Linked DNA regions of Homo sapiens: regions 2, 3, 4, 5 and 6 are each linked to region 1. Evidence: promoter capture Hi-C in 16 types of primary human blood cells and fetal thymus (Javierre and others, 2016). All regions are on one chromosome and are shown on one strand. The core of a region is centred on a gene start or on the middle of the fragment in contact, and the rest is flanking DNA. Distances in the headings are between cores, read along the strand shown.

Region 1 (3,232 bases), core at 518-3,017:
TTATTAAAAAGATCAGTGAGCCAAGGATTAACATAACTTAGGCTTAGAAATCAACCAAAACTCTACTGTTAAGGCACTACTCTGATTTCCACCACAAAATATATTTCTGCTCTGAAAACATTCTATAACATAGAGAGAAAATGACCCACAAGGTCCATAGCAGTGATTTAGGAAGCTCCATATAAGCTTAGAGCATTCAGAGGGGATCCAAGCACACTTTAAACATGGTCTCTTGCCATTATGGTATCGATAAGGCTTAAGTATGATTATTAAAGATAAATGTAAGTGGAAAGGAAACTTGACTTTTTATGATGTTTTACGTAACACTTTTCCTCCATAGCACACATCAAATTGTAATTACACAGTTATTTGTGTGAATATTTATTTATTTATTTTTGAGACAGAGTCTCGCTCTGTCACCCAGGTTGAAGTGCAGTGGTGTTATCTGGGCTCACTACAACCTCAGCCTCCTGGGTTCAAGTGATTCTCCTGCCTCAGCCTCCCGAGTAGCTAGGACTACAGGAGTGCCACACCACACCTGGCTCATTTTTGTATTTTTAGTAGAGATGGGTTTTCGCCATGTTGGCCAGGCTGGTCTCAAACTCCTGACCTCAGGTGATCTGCCCCTCTCGGCTTCCCAAAGTGCTGGGATTACAGGCATGAACCACGATGCCTGGCCCAAATTTAGATTCAAAGTCATGTTGTGAATAGGAAATGTACCAGATAAGCTTTCAAAGTCTTGTTCCGCTAAAATTTAAGAAAGCACATAAGTACATCCTTCTAAATGAAAATAAAGACTTGGTTAATTTGTACATTTCTAGAATCCATGAGCGTATATAAATTCACATCTTAAAGCAATGTGAAAGACCATCAATATTTTATTTTTTCTACGCAAAAGCTGCCATATATTGTAAACAATAACAATGCTATGAATGGATTTCAGTGTCACCAACCTTATTGAACCATTCAGGGCTTTTCTTTTTAGCCAATGATAATGTTGTAATAAATCCAGCTAGCATTCCCGCTGCAGCAACGGTACCAAGGAAAATTCCACCTGCCAAGAGTTTCGGGGAGGAGGGGGGATATTAAAAAAAATTAAATAAAAAGAGGTTAAAAAGATGTACAAAAGTAAGTTTAAGATACTATTCGAGTTACAATCAAAATCACTTTTGAAATTCAAGAAACCATGGCTAAGCAGCTCTTGCTAACAGTAAATGACAGCGGCTGAGAAACACGCGTGACCGCACGACCTCTGGTTCCTTGGGTCATTCCGAATTATTATTCCCGAGCGCAGAGAAAAGGTTCAGCTTCCCTTCCCCTCTCCCCTGGGACCACAGCGTGAAGTTTCTCACGGGGAGGAGAAGAGACGATGGCAATCAGAAAAGGCAAGGCTCTAGAACAATTGCAGAGGTGACGGGGAAATATGGCACGCCCGGGAGAATAGCTCGCGGGATCTGCCCCCCGCCCCGCCCAAGGGGAGACTCCACCCAGTAAGCGACCTACCCTCCCTGGGCCGCCAGACTCCGCGGGCTAAACTCAGGGGCAAGCACAAGCTAAGGGCTCTCAGAGCGGGATGTGTGTGGGAATGCCCGCTCCAGAGCAAGCCAGGGTCCGGGGTTAACTCACCCCGACGCCCGCACCTCACCACAGCACATCTTACCTTTAACCAGGAAAAGCCGGTCATTCGTGGACCCCGGAGCCTCCAGCCCAGAGGCCGGCTGCCCAGTTGCAGCGCCCGCTGTCTCCATGTTTAGGTCGCCTCTAGTGCGTCCGTCCCCAACTGGGCCCGGGTGGAAGCGAGAACCAGGCGGAGGAGAAAGGTTCCGCTACCGCCTCCTCCTGTGCAATCTGAAGAAGGGTCCGGAGTGCGGCCGCTGTCCCCAAACCCTCCTCCCGCGCCGGGGCCGGGAAGACGTGCTGTGCCCAGCCCCAGGGGCGATGCCCTCCAAGGCCGTCTCTTAGGGAGGATCTTTTGATTTCTCCAAGGAGATCATTGCTGGACTTAAGTGATTACTTTGGCTGTTTGAAAGAACGCTCAGCCCCGACTGTAGGAGGCAGTGAGGGTCGCAGATTGCGCCAAGATTCCAGGCCCCGCCTGTGAGACCCTGGAGCTCATTTTCCTGATCAAGCTTACATTGTGTCCAACGATTTGGCCAGCGCTAACACTCCACGATTCTAAAACGCAAGCCTAGGTCTTCTGTCTGTACTTTTCTAGGTAACTTCCCAACAGTGTTGAGGAATAAGTGACAGGCTTTCTCCCTGGAGGAGAGCCAGCCACCCGGTTCTGCGGTGACGGGTACCTCCGCCGCGGTGTGAGTGCTCGGCCTCCGTCGGGAAGTGGAACACTCACAGGATGACCGAATGAAAGTACCACCCCCGAAAGGAGAGCGACGCCCGCTGGAAGCGCTTGCAGAGCTGCCGGCAACGTTGACCGCTAGCAAGCTTGGTCTTCCGCTGGGAGGCTGGTTTGCCCATTCTGTAAATGGCCGTGGAGAGGAGGAGGCTAGTGGTGATAGAAAATCTTTTCAGCCTCTCAGAGAACAATGACATCTTGTAAAATAAGGCGGTCTCTCTGCTATTTGTCCTGCCCCCCATCACCGGAGGGCATGAGTTTCCTGAGGATGGAGATGGGACTCTATGTTCAGTTTATATCCCCCAGCTTTCAGATATTAACTGGTTACCAACATCAAATGCATGTTGGATGAATGAGTAAATGAATGCATCCATTTTTGCGTCAGTGAAGTGCAGTTAATAGCTCAAACCTGGGCTCGGGTCCTAAACCGCTTCTCAGGTGTGTGAACTTGGGGTAACTTAGCCCCTCTATAGCTCAGTTTCCTCACCTGTAAAATTTAAAAACTGGTAGTAGGCCAGGCGCGGTGGTTCACGCCTGTAATCCCAGCACTTTGGGAGGCTGAGGCAGGTGGAGATCAGAAGTTCGAGATCAGCCTGGCCAACATGGTGAAACCCCGTTTCTACTAAAAATACAAAAATTAGCGGAGTCTAATGATGCGGGACTGTAATCCCAGCTACTCGGGAGGCTGAGGCAGGAGAATGGCTTGAACCTGGGAGGGAGAGGTTGCAGTGAGCCGAGATCGAGCCGTTGCACTCCAGCCTGGATGACAAGAGTGAAACTCTGCCATCCACCCCATCCCGCCCCCCCCACACACAAAAACTGATAGTACCTAACTCATAGGATTACTGTGAGAATTAAATGAAGCAACATCTATAAAGA
Region 2 (3,232 bases), core at 222-2,721, 810 kb after region 1:
AGTGTTTTCCATAGGAAATATAATCCATAAGATTCTGCATTTTTAGTTAATTTATAAGGTCCATGGTTCAGTAAACCAACTAAAAATAATTTTTGGCCACTCTATACTTTTTATTCATGCCTTCTTCTCGTATATAATATTATTTTTTTCTAAATTTAAACATGCTTGGATCTCAGAGTCACATCATTTAAACTGAGGACTGAGATGGGGCTAAGTCATGAAAAGTCGTCCTTCTCTGGCAGAGACAATGGTAAATAGTGGATTGGTAAGCTTTGTCGGGGGGTAGGAATTTTTAGTTGAAGATTTATCGCCACATCCTGGCTCCCCCAAACCCCTCTTCCCACCTTGTACCCTTGAATTATCTATCTCATCTAGTTCTACTCTAAATTCCCCAAGGACAGAGAGGAGAGAAGGCAAAGAAAAATGATCTAGGACTTTCATTTGTCTTGGCCATTTCCGCAGTGTGATGTAGAGTGCAGTTCCCATTTCATTCTCACTTTTGGCGAAGCTTGTTACCTATGAATTGGCAGATTTTGTGGCAGTAAGAAGTACAAGCAAAAAGGAATGAATACAAAGGAACAAACTCACAGTATGGTTGTATGGATTATATTCTAAACCCTAATGTAAAAATAAATGTACATAGTTACTGCTACTTTATACTGAACTAAGATATGACAAGACTAAATAAATTCATAAAGATTTAAGAAACACCAAACATCAAATTCTATGAGTGCAACAAAAAATAATTTTATAAGGATTAAGGAAGTGCACAGGAAAAGCTAGAGAATGACAATATTAAAAACAATAATAAAGAGTAGGTACAGGCCGAGCGTGGTAGCTCACGCCTGTAATCCCAACACTTTGGGAGGCTGAGACAAGTGGATTGCTTGAGCCCAGGCGTTCAAGACCAGCCTGGTCAATACAGTGAAACCCCATCTCTACAAAAAATTAGCTGGGCAAGGTGGTGCACACCTGCTGTCCCAGCTACCCGGGAGGCTGAGGTGGGAGGATTGCCTAGCCCAGGGAGGTCAAGGCTGCAGTAAGCCATGATCATGCCACTGCACCCCAGCCTGGGCAACAGAGTGAGACCCTGTCTCAAACAGACAAAAAAAAAAAAGGAATAGGTAGAAAAATGGAAAGGCAACAGTAATATAAAAGAGCTAATCTCTGGTGTTAATTTTTTTTTTTTTTTTTTTTTTTTTGAGATGGAGTCTCTCTCTGTCGCCCAGGCTGGAGTGCAGTGGTGCAATCTCAGCTCGCTGCAAGCTCCGCCTCCCGGGTTCAAGTTATTCTCCTGCCTCAGCCTCCTGAGTAGCTGGGACTATAGGCATGTGCCACCACGCCCAGTTAATTTTTTGTATTCTCAGTAGAGATAGGGTTTCACCATGTTAGACAGGATGGTCTCGATCTCCTGACCTCGTGATCCGCCCGCCTCGGCCTCCCAAAGTGCTGGGATTACAGGCGTAAGCCACTGCACCTGGCCCATCTCTGGTGTTTCTTCATAAAAAGTTACAACCTTAGAGCTCTGTGATTTGTGCAAACTAACTGGGCTTTAAAATGATGTTCATTCTAAAGCAAGAGTTTTTAACAAGGGTCCTTAGGGGTATGGGGTAGATAGAATTCAAGGCAGGTAGGGTGTAAACTTGGATGGAAAAAAAAATTACCTTTGTTTTTTCCTAACCTCTAACTGATATTCTGCATAGTATTCAGTTATGAACACAGACAATAAACCACAGTAACACTAGCAGTACCTGTGATTCTAGCAGTAAGGGAAAGCACAGGTATTTTCATATCACATCTCATGTTGCAGCTATCTGAAAATACGGTTATATTCACTCTTCCTTTCAATGCCAACTATCACCAAACGGTGAAGTTGCACATTCTCATACTAGTGATCCCAAATCTACACTGCTTTCAGCATTCCCTAGCAACAATGGTTTGAGATCAACAGTTCAATGTTCTTATTCAGTGAAGCATCAACAGCATTCACACTGATGTCATTAAAAAATAAAAGGTACATATTGAATGGAACCATATGAAGCTGCCTCTTTCCCCAGCTCTATCCACTGAAGGCCTGAAAGCAATGACAGCAGCAATGAGCTTACCTAGCCCAGAACTTGGTTACTAAATACCATTAGCCCTAAAAGGAACCAAGCCTGCTTAAAAAATCAGCTTATTCTAGGGCTAGAACAGGGAAAGTCTAAGATGAACATTTTCTAATACCAAAAAATAAGCAAGAACTCCAAAAATAATGAATGAAACCATTTACAAAAGACATGGGAGACAACCTGAAGGGGCTCCCACAGCCAAACCTGGGACAATTTGAACATCAGTATGAATAAGGATAGTAAGAGATTATAATCTAGTGAAGAAAAATAACCATGTGTTATCCCATATGGATTAGAAAAGCAGAAAGGAGAAATGAGAGGAAGAAGAAAGCTTTTCCTACAGAAGAATACTAAATAAATGAGTAAGGAGTAATAAAATTAGGGGGAAAAACTCAGCATTTTGCAACCACCTAACAATAACTGTTATTCAGGCAACATTCATTCAAAGATTATTATTAAATAAAACCACTGGCTGAAAGTTTGAAGAGCAACAGGACAGTCTCCTAATCTCAAAGTATCTCCTCCTCCTAAAATCGTGTATTAATTTCAAATACATAAATATATTAACATTCAAGCAGAGAAAACTGGCAGACATCACTTTAACCAAGTGAACAAAGGAAACATCAGCCAATAAGTGTTGAGCTGGCATCACGTGCTTCTGGGCATGACATACTGGGAAGGACACAAAATCACCTCTATCGTATTCCTGTAATAAATGCACACTCAAATTTAATCATGAGGAAGCATGAGACAAACTAAACTAAGGGCCAATCTACAAACCACTGCTTTGTACTCTTCAAAAATGTCAATGTCATGAAGACAGAGAAAGGCTGAAAAAATTTTCAGGTAAAAGGAGACTAAATACACAAGACTCACATGCAATGCTTAATACCAGACTAGATCCTGAAATAGATTTTTTAAAAAGAAAAAAGCTGTCATAGGCTGGGTGCAGTGGCTCATGCTTATAATCCCAGCACTTTGGGAGGCCAAGGCAGGCAGATCACCTGAGGTCAGGAGTTCGAGACCAGCCTGATCAACATGGTGACATCCCGTCTCTACTAAAAATACAAAATTAGTCAGGCATGGTGGCGGATATGCCTATAATCCCAGCTACTCAAGAGGCT
Region 3 (3,232 bases), core at 213-2,712, 720 kb after region 1:
TTTTTTTTTTTTGAGATGGAGTCTCACTCTGTTGCCCAGGCTGGAGTGCAGTGGTGCAATCTCGGCTCACTGCAACATCTGCCCCCCGAGTTCAAGCCGTTCCCCTGCCTCAGCCTCCAGAGTAGCTGGGACTACAGGTGCCCACTACCACACCCAGCTAATTTTGTTGTATTTTTAGTAGAGATGGAGTTTCACCATGTTAGCCAGGCTGGTCTTGAACTCCTGACTTCAGGTGATCCACCCGCCTCAGCCTCCCAAAGTGCTGGGATTACAGGCGTGAGCCACCGCACCTAGCCAGGCCAGTTCAGGGATCCTCTTCCAGGACCTCCAAAGGGCTGTCCTCCAGGCCACAACTGGGGATGGTTCCGACTCTTGGTGAATTCCTCCTGTATTGCACTGCTGCGTCTGTCTGACTCTAGAGTGTTTTGGGGTGCGCGGGAATATGTCTGATTCTTCTCCGTGTGACTCACCCTCAGTCCTTGGAGGGAGTCTTCTGGTTCCCTCTTCTTCTTCTTGTCTTCTCTAAGGCCTCCCAACTCCTTTGGCCACCTTCCCTCCTGTTTCTAAGACTCTCAATGTTCTCATCTCCCTCATCTAAAAAATGACACTCCTTTTTGTCGTTCCCCTCTTGGATTTCATTTTGGTCTTACCTTGACCTTCGTGCTGCCTCAGATGTAGCCTGACCCGCCATGGGATGACTGTGCCTTGGTCTGTCAGGGGCCAGGAGCAGTGGACCACGAGGTCTCAGCTTTTTGGCAGCTGTTTCACCCTCTTAAATTCCTAACATTTGTGCTGCACCAAAGCCTCCATGGTTTCTTCTTTTTGTTTCTTGTTTTGTTTTGTTTTTGAGACGAAGTCTTGCTCTGTCACCCAGGCTGGAGTGCAATGGCACGACCTCGGCTCACTGCAACCTCCACTTCCTGGGTTCAAGAGATTCTCCTGCCTCAGCCTCACAAGTAGCTGGGGTTACAGGCACCCACCACCATGCCTGGCTAATTTTTTTTGTATTTTTAGTAGAGACAGGGTTTCATCACGTTGACCAGGCTGGTTTTGAACTTCTGACCTCAAGTGATCTGCCCGCTTCGGCCTCCCAAAGTGCTAGGATTACAGGCGTGAGCCATCGCGCCCGGCCTCCATGGTTTCTTCAAAACAAGCTTCAGAAGGCTTTAGTGTTCCTTAATCTTATTAAGGATTTGCTAACCTTTGGGCCTAATACCTGTGTTTAGCCTCTAAACACCACTCATCATCAAAGAGAGATGAAGTCATCTTCACAGGGGGCCGGGAGGGCAGCGGGAAGTGGTGGTCTACCGTCACCGGCTTCAACTGTCACTATCAAGCCTAAGGCTGCTTCTAGTTATTTTTCTCCACTTTGAACTTTTTCTCTTCCTTCTTCACTTAGGTTAGATGAAAAGTGCAAAGATTTTGGGGTGAGTAGCTTGCGTATTAAGCTGCAATGCTGTCCCTCCTTGACAGCTGCCGTTGGAAACCCAGGAGCCCAGCAGGATGGGGCAGGGTTGAGCAGAGGGTGGTGGATGAGGATTTGTCTGCATGTTTTCCTGGGTAATGGTACCTTCAGTACTTCCTGACTCCATTTCTAGCAGCCGTGTACCTTTAATAAATTTCATTTTTACGTGTAAATGGGCTGTGCAGTTTATAAATAGCCACATTGAAATTTTACCCTTAAAGCAAATTGCTCCCTGGTCTAGCTAGTTCGAGAATCTATTTATGATCTGTGTCTGTGGTTGACAACGTTGCTCCCCTGGTCATTGTAGAAGCTTCCCCCCACCATATGCTGTATAGACACGTGCCTTGCCAAGGTGAGTTCAGTCTGTCTTTTGAAGTTTCCTGCAACTGAACCAAACGGAGGAGGATGCCGAGTAGAGCAGACCCCTCTTGCCCTGCCTTCACCTCTTTCCTGCCAGAAACCATTCGCCAAGTTTGTGGAGTCGTGGCGCTGGATGGGCTTGTGTGTTTGTACCTTCCTTTTTTCCAAAAAGGACATGAGATGGCTTGTAGTATAACAGTTTCAAAAATAAGTGAAGAGGTCTGGATGAAGGGCAAGAGTCGAATTGGTGCCCACGATGCATGCCGTGGGTCTTGTGTGCGTGGGAAGGAACCTGACGCTTGTTCCAAGCTTCCCCGCAGCCACCACAGAAAGAACCACAGTCACAGCCAGTTTATGACAGTGACTCAGAGCACGAGCTTTGAAGCGACGCAGACCTGGGCTCAAATTCAAACTCTGGCTCCCCTGCTTTGTAACCATGTGTGTTTGAGAGGCTCTTATCTGTGCCAAGCCTTAGTTTACTTTTCTGTAAAATGGGGCTAACAATATCTACCTTATAGGGTTCTAGAGAGGATTAAAGAGCGTAATATAAGAATTTGGCTGGGCATGGGGGCTCATGCCTGTAATTCCAGCAATTTGGGAGGCCAAGGTGGACAGATCACTTGAGGTCAGGAGTTTAAGACAAGCCTGGCCAACATGGTGAAATCCCATCCCCACTAAAAATGCAAAAATTAGCTAGGCATGGTGTCAGGTTCCTGTAATCCCAGTTATTCAGGAGGCTGAGGCAGGAGAATCACTTGAACCTGGGAGGCGGAGTTTGCAGTGAGCCAAGATTGTGCCACCACACTCTAGCCTGGTCAACAGAGTGCGACTCTGTCAAAAAAAAAAAAAAAAAAAAAAAAAAAAAAACACACAGTATCTAGAATCTAAAAAGTACTCAAAATGGCAGCTGCTATTGATACTAATAGAAACAAATGATAACACCCAGGAGATAAAACCAATGGTGGCATCCGGAGAAGCATGGCTCTTGGTGCCGTGAGCACTGAATGAGAGTTTCCTCCTGTCTTTGTGGGAACAGGGACACCGTGAGATGTAGTAACATGAAGACAGCTTCCTGGTCAGTCTTATCTCTCATCCCTCATAGACTCATCGTAAATCAGTAACCCCAGATGAAGCCATTTATTCATCCCAAACATTCACTGAGCGTCTGCCAGGTGTAGGGGGCACCAGGGATCAGATACAGTCCCTACCTTCAGGGAGCAGGGGGCAGGACAGGGCAGTGTTGTGTGGACAGAGCCGTGTTGGAGGAAGGGAGAGGCCCCGGGGGCAGCTCTCCCAGGCTGAGGGTGTGGGGTGGGCTGCCCAAGGGTCCAGACTGGGGAGGGGTGAGGAAGAAGCACTCAGGCAAGGAAGGCAGCCCTTGCAGAGGGAACAATGGGTGCAGGTGTT
Region 4 (3,232 bases), core at 296-2,795, 650 kb after region 1:
ATCTTTTTATGTTTTATTTTTAGATTTTTGTTTGTTTGTTTGTTTTGTTTTGAGACAGGGTCTTGCTCTGTCAGCCAGGGCGGAGTGCAGTGGCATGATCTCAGCTCAGAGCAACCTCATACTCCTGGGCTCAAGTGGTCCTCCTACCTCAGCCTCCCAAGTAGCTGGGACTACAGGTGTGCACCACTGCCCCAGCTACTTTTTTTGTATTTTGTGTAGAGATGGAGTTTCACTATGTTGCCCAGGTTAGTCTTGAGCTCGCAGGCTCAAGCGATCCACCCTCCTCGGCCTCCCAAAGTGCTAGGATTACAGGCGTGAACCACTGCGCCCGGCCTTTGTTTTTTGTTTTAAGAGACAGGGTCTCGCTCTGTCACCCAGGCTGGAGTCCAGTGGTGTGACCATAGCTCACTGTAATGTCAAACTCCTGGGCTCACATGATCCGCCTACCTCAGCCTCCTGAGTAGCTGGGGCTACAGATGCATGCCACCATGCCTGCCTATCTTTCTTTTAATTTTTTGTAGAGACGGAGCCTCACCATGTTGTCCAAGCTGGTCTCAAACTCCTGGCCTCAAGTGATCCTCCTGCCTTGGCCTTTCAAAGTGCTGGATTACAGGCGTGAACCACCGCACCTGGCAAAAATTTCCAGTCCTGATAGATTAGAGCCTACCCCAAAGACCTCCTTTTGACTTAACCATCTATTTAAAGATCACACCTCTAAATGCAGTCCCATTCTGAGGTACTGGGGGTTAGGAGTTCAACACATGGATTTGGGGGGCAAAATTCAGCTCATAACGGAGTGGATGGGGGGAGGAAGTTTAGATAGAGAGGCTCGGGAAGGCCTCACTAAGAAGCTGTTTTTTGATGGTTGTGAAGGAGGTAAGAGAAGTAGCGTCGGGCCTCTGGGGCAGCTGCCTTCCACATGCAGAAGCCCTGTGTGGGGGCTCACCTGGTGCACCAGCATGAGGACCACGGCGAGCCTGGCTGGACAAGGCAGAGAGCAGCCACATATGGGACGGGAGACCGGCCAGACCACAGAGCGCCTGGACTTCAGCCTCCACAGAGTGAGCTGTGCAGATTGACGGTGTCAGCAGGGCCACTCTGGCTGCCAGCGAGGTTGGGGAGAAGAAGGGTGACTAGATCCAAGCTAAAGATGCCAGACCAGGTGGGGACAGTGGGTGTCTGCCCTGACCTCAAACTGTAGGTCCTGGAGGGAGCATCTATTCCCCCAGTGCTGCGAGTGTTGCTCCCGGCTGGGGTGCCCTGCCCAGGTCGCCCCTCTTCAGAAGCCAGGACCGCCGGATGCACTCAGGCAACTCGACTCCTCATCCTCCCCCTCCCCGTCCATCTTTCTCCCCAGCACAGACCCCGCAGGCACATCCCCTGCTCAGAGTCCCTGCCACAGGGAACCAAACCTGAAACAGTGAGCCAGTGAACCGTGCTCCGAGCCTGGATATGATTTTCAGTTAGAACTGGCAGGCTTGAGGCTTTCTCCTCGTTTTGCAGAGGAACCAGAGAGCCGGTCAGCCAAGGCTACCTCCAGTACTTCAGTCCACCCTGGGTTTAGGCCCAGAGGATCTTGACTATGACTTCTAGATTGTGTGCACCGTGGCCAGCGTCCTGGGCCTTTCCCACTCTCGCTAACTCCCATTCCCACCCTCGTGTCCTCATGGGGAGCTCACCAAGGGCCAGTTCTTGGGAGGATGGCGCCTCCTCCTCCAGCTTGCCCACAGCCCTGTCCCACTGCCTGCTCCCTTCTGCCTCCATACCTGTCCTCCCAACCTCCTCTCCCTCCCTCTGAAGATCCTGCCACCTCCTTTTCAGGGGACTTCCTTTCTCCCCTCTAGAGACAGGTGCCTCTCTGTGCTGGGGAGTGAGCTCTCCTGCTCTGCTCTTTGCTATTTGCCTTCCACCATGTGCAGGTCTGGCCAGTCCTCGAGGGTCTCTGCTATCCCGTCTGCCCCCCATTCTGTTCATCTTGTGTTTCTCCCAGCCTGGCTTCCAGAGCCAGCAGACTACACTCACAGCGCCATTTCTTCCTTATTTCTTTGCAAGCTGGCTTTTTTGCCCAGCCCTCTAGTGAAGCTGCCCCCTCAAAGGTCCCCGTTACCTTCTCACCAAACCAAGTTTCTTTTCTGAGTCCTGATTCTTGGATACCTTCCTGAGGTTTTTAAACCAGTCACCTCTCAGGGCTTTTGCATGTGGGAGGCTGTAGCCCCAGATGCCTGATGGCTGTTTCTCTTACCTCCTTCCGGTCTGTTAAAAAATGCCTCCTTTTCTGAGAGGGAGGAGCCCTCAGGAATGGTTTAGCGCCATCCTCTAGACGATGAGTTTTCACTCAGTTCATGTGAGATCCAGAGCTGTCCAGGTCACGCCCTTGGCCCCTCTGCTTTCTCGGGGTACTTCTTGATCGTCTTTTCCTCCTGCCCCTGCCTTCTACCCCTGTCTGTCTCCACTCCCCTTTGATCGCTGCCATACTCATTTCTGGCCCCTCATCTGTAGGCATTTCCCACTGGACGACCTGCCCACCCGGTCTCTGTCTCCAATTAAACTCGCCTCCTCCTCACTCTGGGATGGTATCGCTGCTGTCCCATTCTCAAAATGCCAGGGTCCTGTCTGACTTCCCACTTTCCTTTGTGCAGCTCATATCATACAATCAGGCACCAAATACAGATTTGTATTTCCTTTAAACCTCTCCTGTCTTACTCGGCTCGGGCTCTGATAGGGGTTAGATGTCTGTCCACTCCAAATCTCCTGTTGAAATGTAATCCCCAGTGCTGGAGGTGGGGCCTGGTGGGAGGATTGCATCATGAGGGTGGACCTCTCATGAATGGTTTAGTACCATCTTCTTGATGATAAGTGAGTTCTTGCTCAGTTAGTTCACGGGAGATCTGAGTGTTTGAAAGAGTGCGGCACCTCCCCCCAGCTCTCCTGCTCTAATCTCACCACGTGACATGCTGGTTCCTGGTTGCCTTCCACCATGACTGTAAGCCTCCTGAGGCCTCCCCAGAAGCAGACGCCAGCACCATGCTTCCTGTACAGCCTGTGGAAGCGTGAGCCAATGACATCTATTTTCTTTATAAATACCCAGTCTCAGGTATTCCTTTATAGTAACACAAATAGACTAATAATACAGGCTTCCGCAATAAAATACCACAGGCCAGTGGCTTAAACAATAGAAATTTATTTCTCAGTTCTAGAAGCTAGAAATTCTGAGATCAAGGTGCCAGCTGAT
Region 5 (3,232 bases), core at 336-2,835, 610 kb after region 1:
TGATTTTAATCATGTAGTTTTTTAAATGCAGGGTCAGTTGAAACTTTGGAGTAGTTCCTTTTCTCTTACGGACTTAAAAGAAATTTGCGTGGTTTTTAATTTTAAGCTTTTTTTTTTTTTTTTTTTTTTTTTTGAGACGGAGTCTTGCTCTGTCACCCAGGCTGGAGTGCAGTGGCACGATCTCCGCTCACTGCAAGCTCCGCCTCCCAGGTTCACGCCATTCTCCTGCCTCAGCCTCTCGAGTAGCTGGGACTACATAATTTTAAGCTTTGTTATCATAAAATTATTGCGTATGTGTTACCAAAAGTATAGACAAGTAACACACACACACACACACACACATAACCCTTCAACCACGCAGAGAGAAAATCAGTGTTAATATGTTAGTGTTTAGTCTCCCAAATCCTCCTCTGTACGTATGTAATTATAGGAAAGATTGTTTAAACAAAAATGACCTCACACTAGACATTTTGTTTTATAATCTGCTTTTTTCATCTAACAGTATATTGTGATCTTTTCAGGTTGGTAAATACACTTTTGACATCCTTAGAAAGAACTGGTATCTTTAGGATCACTTAGGTGATTGTGTATCCAGGTTATTGTCTCCGTTTCATGGAGTACTTGGAATGAATGGCCAGCTAGCATTAGCAACCCCTGTTATTCTTTTATAGATTTGATGGTCCCCCCAGTGATTGGAATTTTCCTAAATAAGATATTCAAGAAATTATTATTTTATTTACTTTAGAATAATTTTAAAATTCACAAAGAATTGTATAGGCAGAAAGGAAGCGAAGTTAAAATATAAATCAGCGCTTTTTAAGTAGTTCTTTAAATGTCTGCATCAAGCCTGTATTTAAGGCTAACTTAGTGAAAGGGGAGTTGTTATCATGCAAGAAAACAAGTGTCTGTGGTTATATTTGGCCCGAGTATCCCCACAGCAGTGCTGTTTCTCCTGCTTATGTGACTGACGGCCGCCTTCACCCACAGAGAGCAGAAGTGCGAGGCTGTGGGGAAGTTCACCAAGGCCATGGATGACGGCGTGAAGGAGCTGCTGACGGTGGGGCAGGAGCACTGGAAGCGCTGCACGGGCCGTAAGTCCACTCCTCACAGTGCACTGGGCTCGTAGGGGGTGATGCAGGCTCAGTTTTATGTCCCTTATCATAGAGGGGAACCTGCTGCCTCGAACAGAAGTGTATTTGGTGGACGGCAGTAATGTCCCTCCTGTGATTCTGCTTGATCTCACTTCACCTGAGTTAAACCACAGAAAACTGACCAGCAAAGCCAGGTTAAGAAATCTCATAGGGAACACCACGTTCACTTAATTAGTTCCAGTAATTTGGGGCTTTATAATCTTTGGAAAATTAATCATTTTTGCATGTTTTCAGAGTGCTTGTAGTTATTCTTAGTCTCATGATTTTATTTTTTAATCTTCATCCATTTGGTAAGATGTTGTGTATTTGACTAAAACCATAGTGTTTAGAAAAACCAATATAGTTAGTAGTAGAAAATATGTCACAGCAGAAGCACTGCCGAGGGGAGAGTGTCGCTGTCAGTCACGGCTTTCTGACCACTCTGCTGTGTCCCTAAGAACTTCCTGCCTCCCTCCTTCTCCTTTGTTTGTAGGCTTTCATTCTGCTGAAGGTTTTTCCTGTATTTCCTAGAACTGTGCAGCTCTGTCACCACACATGTGGCCCAGGATAGAAAAATAGTCCCGTATCCAGCTGTAGGGCTAATGCCACGGGCTGCTGCCCTGTTACACCCACAGGCTCAGAGGCTGCAGAGTGACTTGTCAGGCCCTGAAATGCTGCGACTGCACTGCTGTCCCATGCGCAGATGCCTTTAACTCCCTTAGAGTCCTAGGACTTCTCTCCTTTATATCTGGTCTGCCCTTATTGCTGTGTCTTAACCTCTAGAGAACAGGGCCTTCTAATCTATCACTAAGAATTTTCTGGCCTTCACCTCATAACACCATACAGGAATATTGGTTGTATTCAGTTAAAAAAAATGTTTTATATTTTGAATTATGAGTAACATATACCTACTTTTCTATCAGCCTTTGATGCTCAGCATAGGAAAGGGATCTGTTCTTGTAATGATTTTTTTAAAGGTGATATTTTTACACTAAAAAAAGAAAACAATCAGAATTTGAAATCCAATAATAATTTTAAAGAGAGGAAACTAAATATGGAGTGACTTGTAGATGAATTAATAAGATAGCACAGCAAAGACAATGTCAGTATTACTATTCAATCCAGATCTGAAAATCCAAAGCCTTACATCAGGAGTCAGTAAACCATGGTCCGAGCACCATATTTGGCTTGCCACTTATTTTGTAAATAAAGTTTTATTGGAACACACCCATGCCCATTTATTTGTATATTGTCTTTGGCTACATTTGTGTCATAATGGTAGAGTTGAGTAGTTTCAACAGAAACTTGTGGCTCCATAAAGCCTAAAACGTTTACTATCTGGCACTTTGCAGAGGAAGTTTGCCAGGCCCTGCCTTACCTCAACCATTGGCCAATAACTACCTCTGCCTCTTCCTCTACTAGCAGTAATACCAGTACCAGTGGTGCTTTACCATCCACATATTATCTTATACCAACAAAACAACTTGTAGCATACCAGCTGTTCGTGCTTGAGGGGCAGACATCAGGAATAACAGTTGTTTCTTTCCCATGGCAAAGAAATATGATGCTGTATCCTAAATATATAGAATTAGCCCTGAGAAAATAATGTATACAAATGCAGCATCTAGAAAACAAAACCTGTGTCAAGACTTTAGTCATAGAGGATGACTCAGGAACAAAAAGCAAAGTTGACGTTGTTCTCTAAAGCAGAGGCCCCCAATCCCCAGGCCATGGACTGGTACATGGACCATTACCGCACAGCAGGAGGCAAGTGAAGCTTCATCTCTATCTACAGGTGCTCCCCATCACTCACATTACCGCCTGAGCTCCGCCTCCTGTCAGATCAGCGGTGGCATTAGATTCTCATAGAAATTTGCACCCTATTAAGAGCCACGCATACAAGCTTGTGAGCCCTTATGAGAATCTAATGCCTGATAATCTGAGGTGGAACAGTTTCATCCCCAAACCATCCCCCCGACCCACTGTCTATCTGTGGAAAAATTGTCTTCCATGAAACCAGTCCCTGGTGCCAGAAAGGTTGGGGACCGTTGCTCTAAAGTATAAATGAAAGAATTCAGTTTTTAAAGGCAATGAATTAATTT
Region 6 (3,232 bases), core at 332-2,831, 580 kb after region 1:
CCCTGTTTTACTGCAGGCAAACTGATGCCCAGAGAGACGCATCGAGTGTTCCAGTCAGGAAGCCAGGCCCTCAGGCGCCAAAGCACGTGTTTCAGCTCCTGTGCCTAAAAACGTGGTCCGGAGCTTTGTGTTAGCTTAGGTTTCTCTTAGATTTAAAACAAAAAAAAAAGTGTTGTGTTTTATTTTTTTGTTTTGAGACAGGCGTCTCGCTCTGTCACCCAGGCTGAAGTGCAGTGGTGCGATCTTGGTTCACTGCAACCCCAACGTCCCGGGTTCAAGCAATTCTCGTGCCTCAGCCACCTGAGTAGCTGGGATTACAAACATGTGCCACCGCGCCCAGCTAATTTTTGTATTTTTAGTAGAGACGAGGTTTTACCACGTTGGCCAGGCTGGTCTCAAGCTCCTGGTCTCAAGTGATCCGCCCGCCTCTACCTCCCAAAGTGCTGGGATTACAGGCTTGAGCCACCACACCTAGCCAAAAAAAAAAAGTTTTTAACAGTACTTGTAGATACCCTACTTAACAGGAAAGCATGTGGGCACCAGTGACCACTGTAGGATTCTTTGGAGAGACCTAAATAAGGCTGTAGTCTATGCCAGTGTAGCTTGAAGGAGATATATTAGTAATTTATGACTTCCATCAGAATTTTCAAGTACTCCTTCCAGCAGTTATGTTTAGTTTATTTTTTGAAATTACTAATACTTTTTCCCAATATTCCAATTCCATGATTCAAGGCAGATATCAAAGAATGTTAATCTGTGTCTGGAAAAATTAAAAACATAACATTTGACATATATTTAGACATCAAGATCTAGGTCTAGATCTAGTTTAATAAGTCCTACAAGTTCTCCAAAGTATATTTAAATAGCTTCAGTGATTAAATGAGTTCTCTTTTGACTGCACACTTTTGCTGCCTCTTACCCAGTTTCTTCCATTATATATTTTCCTGCTCAATTGCATGCATAATAAAGTGAATAATTCTCTGTCTTGTTAGTCAACTGTGTCTTGTTTCAGAGTCAAATTTGAAGTTTTCAGTCATGGTCAGTAGTGATGTGCATCATTGTCAGCTGTTCTTTAAATGTGAATATAAAGTATATTGAAAATTCATATAAATTAGCCCCATTTTGAAAACGAAGGAAGCAGAGACTGAGAAAAATGAGTGGCCACGTTTTCATGGCTGATGAGTGAGGTTCCAGCTCATGCCTGGGGGTCTCTGACTCTGGTTTTTGGTGCTCTCCTCTGCTCCACACTTGCTCTCTGATTTGCTTATAACCTTAAGGCAAGTTTCGTGACCTGTTGGAACCTCAGTTTCTTCATCTCGAAAGCAAGGAGGTTGGCTTTAAGAATTCTTTCTGCTCTAAAATATCATTCCAGGCTGAAACCACATTAAAGCAGTCCTAACTTGAACCTGTGCCTCTGAGGCATCTCTGTCTCTCTGTAGTGCTGTGAACGATTTAACACCCTGTGTATTTGTATTTAACTAAACTGTATAAATGAGTCACTTAAACTTAAAACAATTATAAAAAATGTTTTTAAGTATTAACACTTTTTCAGCAATTAATCCATTTTATATGACAGCTGTATTCTAGTCATGGAACATAAATCTTATACTAGAAAAAGAGATCTGAAATTAAATATACTTGAGCACTATAAGAATTCACCTTGGGCCAGGTGCAGTGCCTCATGTCTGTAATCCTAGCACTTTGGGAGGCCGAGGCAGGCAGATCACGAGGTCAGGAATTCGAGACCAGCCTGGCCAACATGGTGAAACCTCAATCTGTACCAAAAATATAAAAAAGTAGCTGGGCGTGGTGGCACGCCTGTAATCCTAGCTACTTGGAAGGCTCAGGCAGGAGAATCGCTTGAACCCGGGAGACGGAGGTTGCAGTGAGCCGAGATGGCACCACTGCACTCCAGCTTGGGCGACACAGAGACTCTGTCTCCAAAAAAAAAATAAAAGGCATCTTGATGATGCTGAAATAATTAATACATTGCTGTCCTCAAATTTTTCTGTGGTCCATAACAGTGCCCAAAAATTGAAATGCTTACAAGCTGGTCAAGGAGTTGTCATGATATATAATCCCCACAGAAGCGCACCTGTAGTCCCAGCTACTTGGGAGACTGAGGCAGGATAATCGCTTGAACCAGGAGGTGGAGGTTACAGTGAGCCGAGATCGCGCCACTGTACTCCAGCCTGGCGACAGAGTGAGACTCTGTCTCAAAAAAATAAATAAAATAGAGTAATTAATAAATAAAAGTGTTGCAGGTTAGCCTAATTCATTAAGCATTCAGTATGCTCCCAAAACTCCTCCAGGTCCTGAAAACACAAATGCTTCCTCTAAGTCCCTCTGGCTGCTGTAATAGGTAAATGGATAGCGGCAGTCAGGTGTGATGAATAGAATCACAAAATATGCTCAAAATGCCTAGGAAGACTCTACCTGCGGCTGCAGGGAGTACTTCCAAAGAGAGGATGACTTAGTTGCCAATGACTGAAATGTACTGAGTACATACTAGGTTCTTTACATAAATCTTTAATTCCCTTATCACCTTAGAAGGTAGGTCATTCTGGTCTCATTCTTCCACAAGGAGATTTCAGCCCCTAAGGCTACCTAAGTGTTGGAGTCAGAATTCAAACCCCATGCCATCCAGCTGCAGGACACATCTGGTCTCTTGTGTAAGCTGCGTTTTAAAGGAATGTCTAGAGAAAGGAGACTCAAGGGAAGTCAGCTGAGAATGCAGGAAAAGAAGACACGGGCCCCTGAGAGCATCACACTGGCCTTTGGCTTGGCACATGAATGAAAGTAGAAGCAATGCGACTGGAACTTCGTAGAAATAAGATTCCTTTTCCCATTGTAGATATTTTGCTTCCTTTTCTTCTGTTTACTAAAAGAAAAATTCTAAAACCCAAATTAATCTTGTCTTTTTCAGTAGCCCTTTGGATGGCTATGTTCTAGCTGTCCTCTAATTTCAGAAATGTCCTTTGGATATAGATGTGATTTCTGGAAGTAGTCAAGTTTATTTAAGTTTTTGAGTCTTAAGTGACCTCCCCCCCACCCCCTCCCCATAGCCAAATTTATTGATTACACTTTGGGTCTCTACTAAAGAGACTTGTTTTCCGCTGTCATGAACTGCTTCTGAAGGCAATTCCAAAAGAAACAAGCACATATGCTGATGAGCAGGACAGCCCCTTTGGGACAGTTGTGGCCTCTGGAGAGAGCCTGTTGAAAGGCAACT

Evidence for each region. Contacts are between HindIII fragments. The CHiCAGO score rates a contact against its expected background, and 5 or more counts as called.
Region 2: a contact is called between a fragment that was not itself captured here and the fragment with the promoter of TMEM242 in region 1, in 1 of 17 cell types (activated CD4 T cells). The highest score is 5.2, in activated CD4 T cells.
Region 3: a fragment that was not itself captured here is called in contact with the fragment with the promoter of TMEM242 in region 1 in 1 of 17 cell types (total CD8 T cells); the score reaches 5.4 in total CD8 T cells.
Region 4: a contact is called between a fragment that was not itself captured here and the fragment with the promoter of TMEM242 in region 1, in 5 of 17 cell types (fetal thymus, naive CD8 T cells, activated CD4 T cells and 2 more). The highest score is 6.8, in fetal thymus.
Region 5: a contact is called between a fragment that was not itself captured here and the fragment with the promoter of TMEM242 in region 1, in 3 of 17 cell types (naive CD4 T cells, activated CD4 T cells and endothelial precursors). The highest score is 6.7, in naive CD4 T cells.
Region 6: a contact is called between a fragment that was not itself captured here and the fragment with the promoter of TMEM242 in region 1, in 6 of 17 cell types (naive CD4 T cells, naive CD8 T cells, total CD4 T cells and 3 more). The highest score is 9.7, in naive CD4 T cells.

The regions. Positions count from the first base shown.
Region 1 is chr6:157,321,752-157,324,983 of GRCh38, forward strand. TMEM242 (transmembrane protein 242) reads right to left here and starts at 1,768. Exons shown (of 4, transcript NM_018452.6): 1 at 1,661-1,768; 2 at 954-1,054. The coding sequence starts at 1,748. It overlaps TMEM242-DT (TMEM242 divergent transcript), which reads left to right and starts at 1,883. Exons shown (of 1, transcript NR_187268.1): 1 at 1,883-2,726. RefSeq lists enhancers at 1,531-1,870, 2,051-2,480. The HindIII fragment of the contact is 1,401 bases long and covers 727-2,127 here.
Region 2 is chr6:158,132,202-158,135,433 of GRCh38, forward strand. The region is part of intron 8 of SERAC1 (serine active site containing 1); the gene reads right to left. Among named protein-coding and RNA genes, the nearest start is that of SERAC1, 34 kb to the right of the region's middle. The HindIII fragment of the contact is 1,931 bases long and covers 507-2,437 here.
Region 3 is chr6:158,045,114-158,048,345 of GRCh38, forward strand. All of the region lies in intron 5 of SYNJ2 (synaptojanin 2), which reads left to right. Among named protein-coding and RNA genes, the nearest start is that of SYNJ2-IT1, 46 kb to the left of the region's middle. The HindIII fragment of the contact is 621 bases long and covers 1,153-1,773 here.
Region 4 is chr6:157,975,707-157,978,938 of GRCh38, forward strand. No RefSeq gene overlaps it. Among named protein-coding and RNA genes, the nearest start is that of SYNJ2, 4.5 kb to the right of the region's middle. The HindIII fragment of the contact is 6,383 bases long and covers 1-3,232 here.
Region 5 is chr6:157,927,612-157,930,843 of GRCh38, forward strand. It overlaps SNX9 (sorting nexin 9), which reads left to right. Exons shown (of 18, transcript NM_016224.5): 12 at 988-1,091. Among named protein-coding and RNA genes, the nearest start is that of SNX9-AS1, 36 kb to the left of the region's middle. RefSeq lists an enhancer at 2,860-3,232. The HindIII fragment of the contact is 2,640 bases long and covers 266-2,905 here.
Region 6 is chr6:157,902,491-157,905,722 of GRCh38, forward strand. All of the region lies in intron 6 of SNX9 (sorting nexin 9), which reads left to right. Among named protein-coding and RNA genes, the nearest start is that of SNX9-AS1, 11 kb to the left of the region's middle. The HindIII fragment of the contact is 3,736 bases long and covers 1-3,232 here.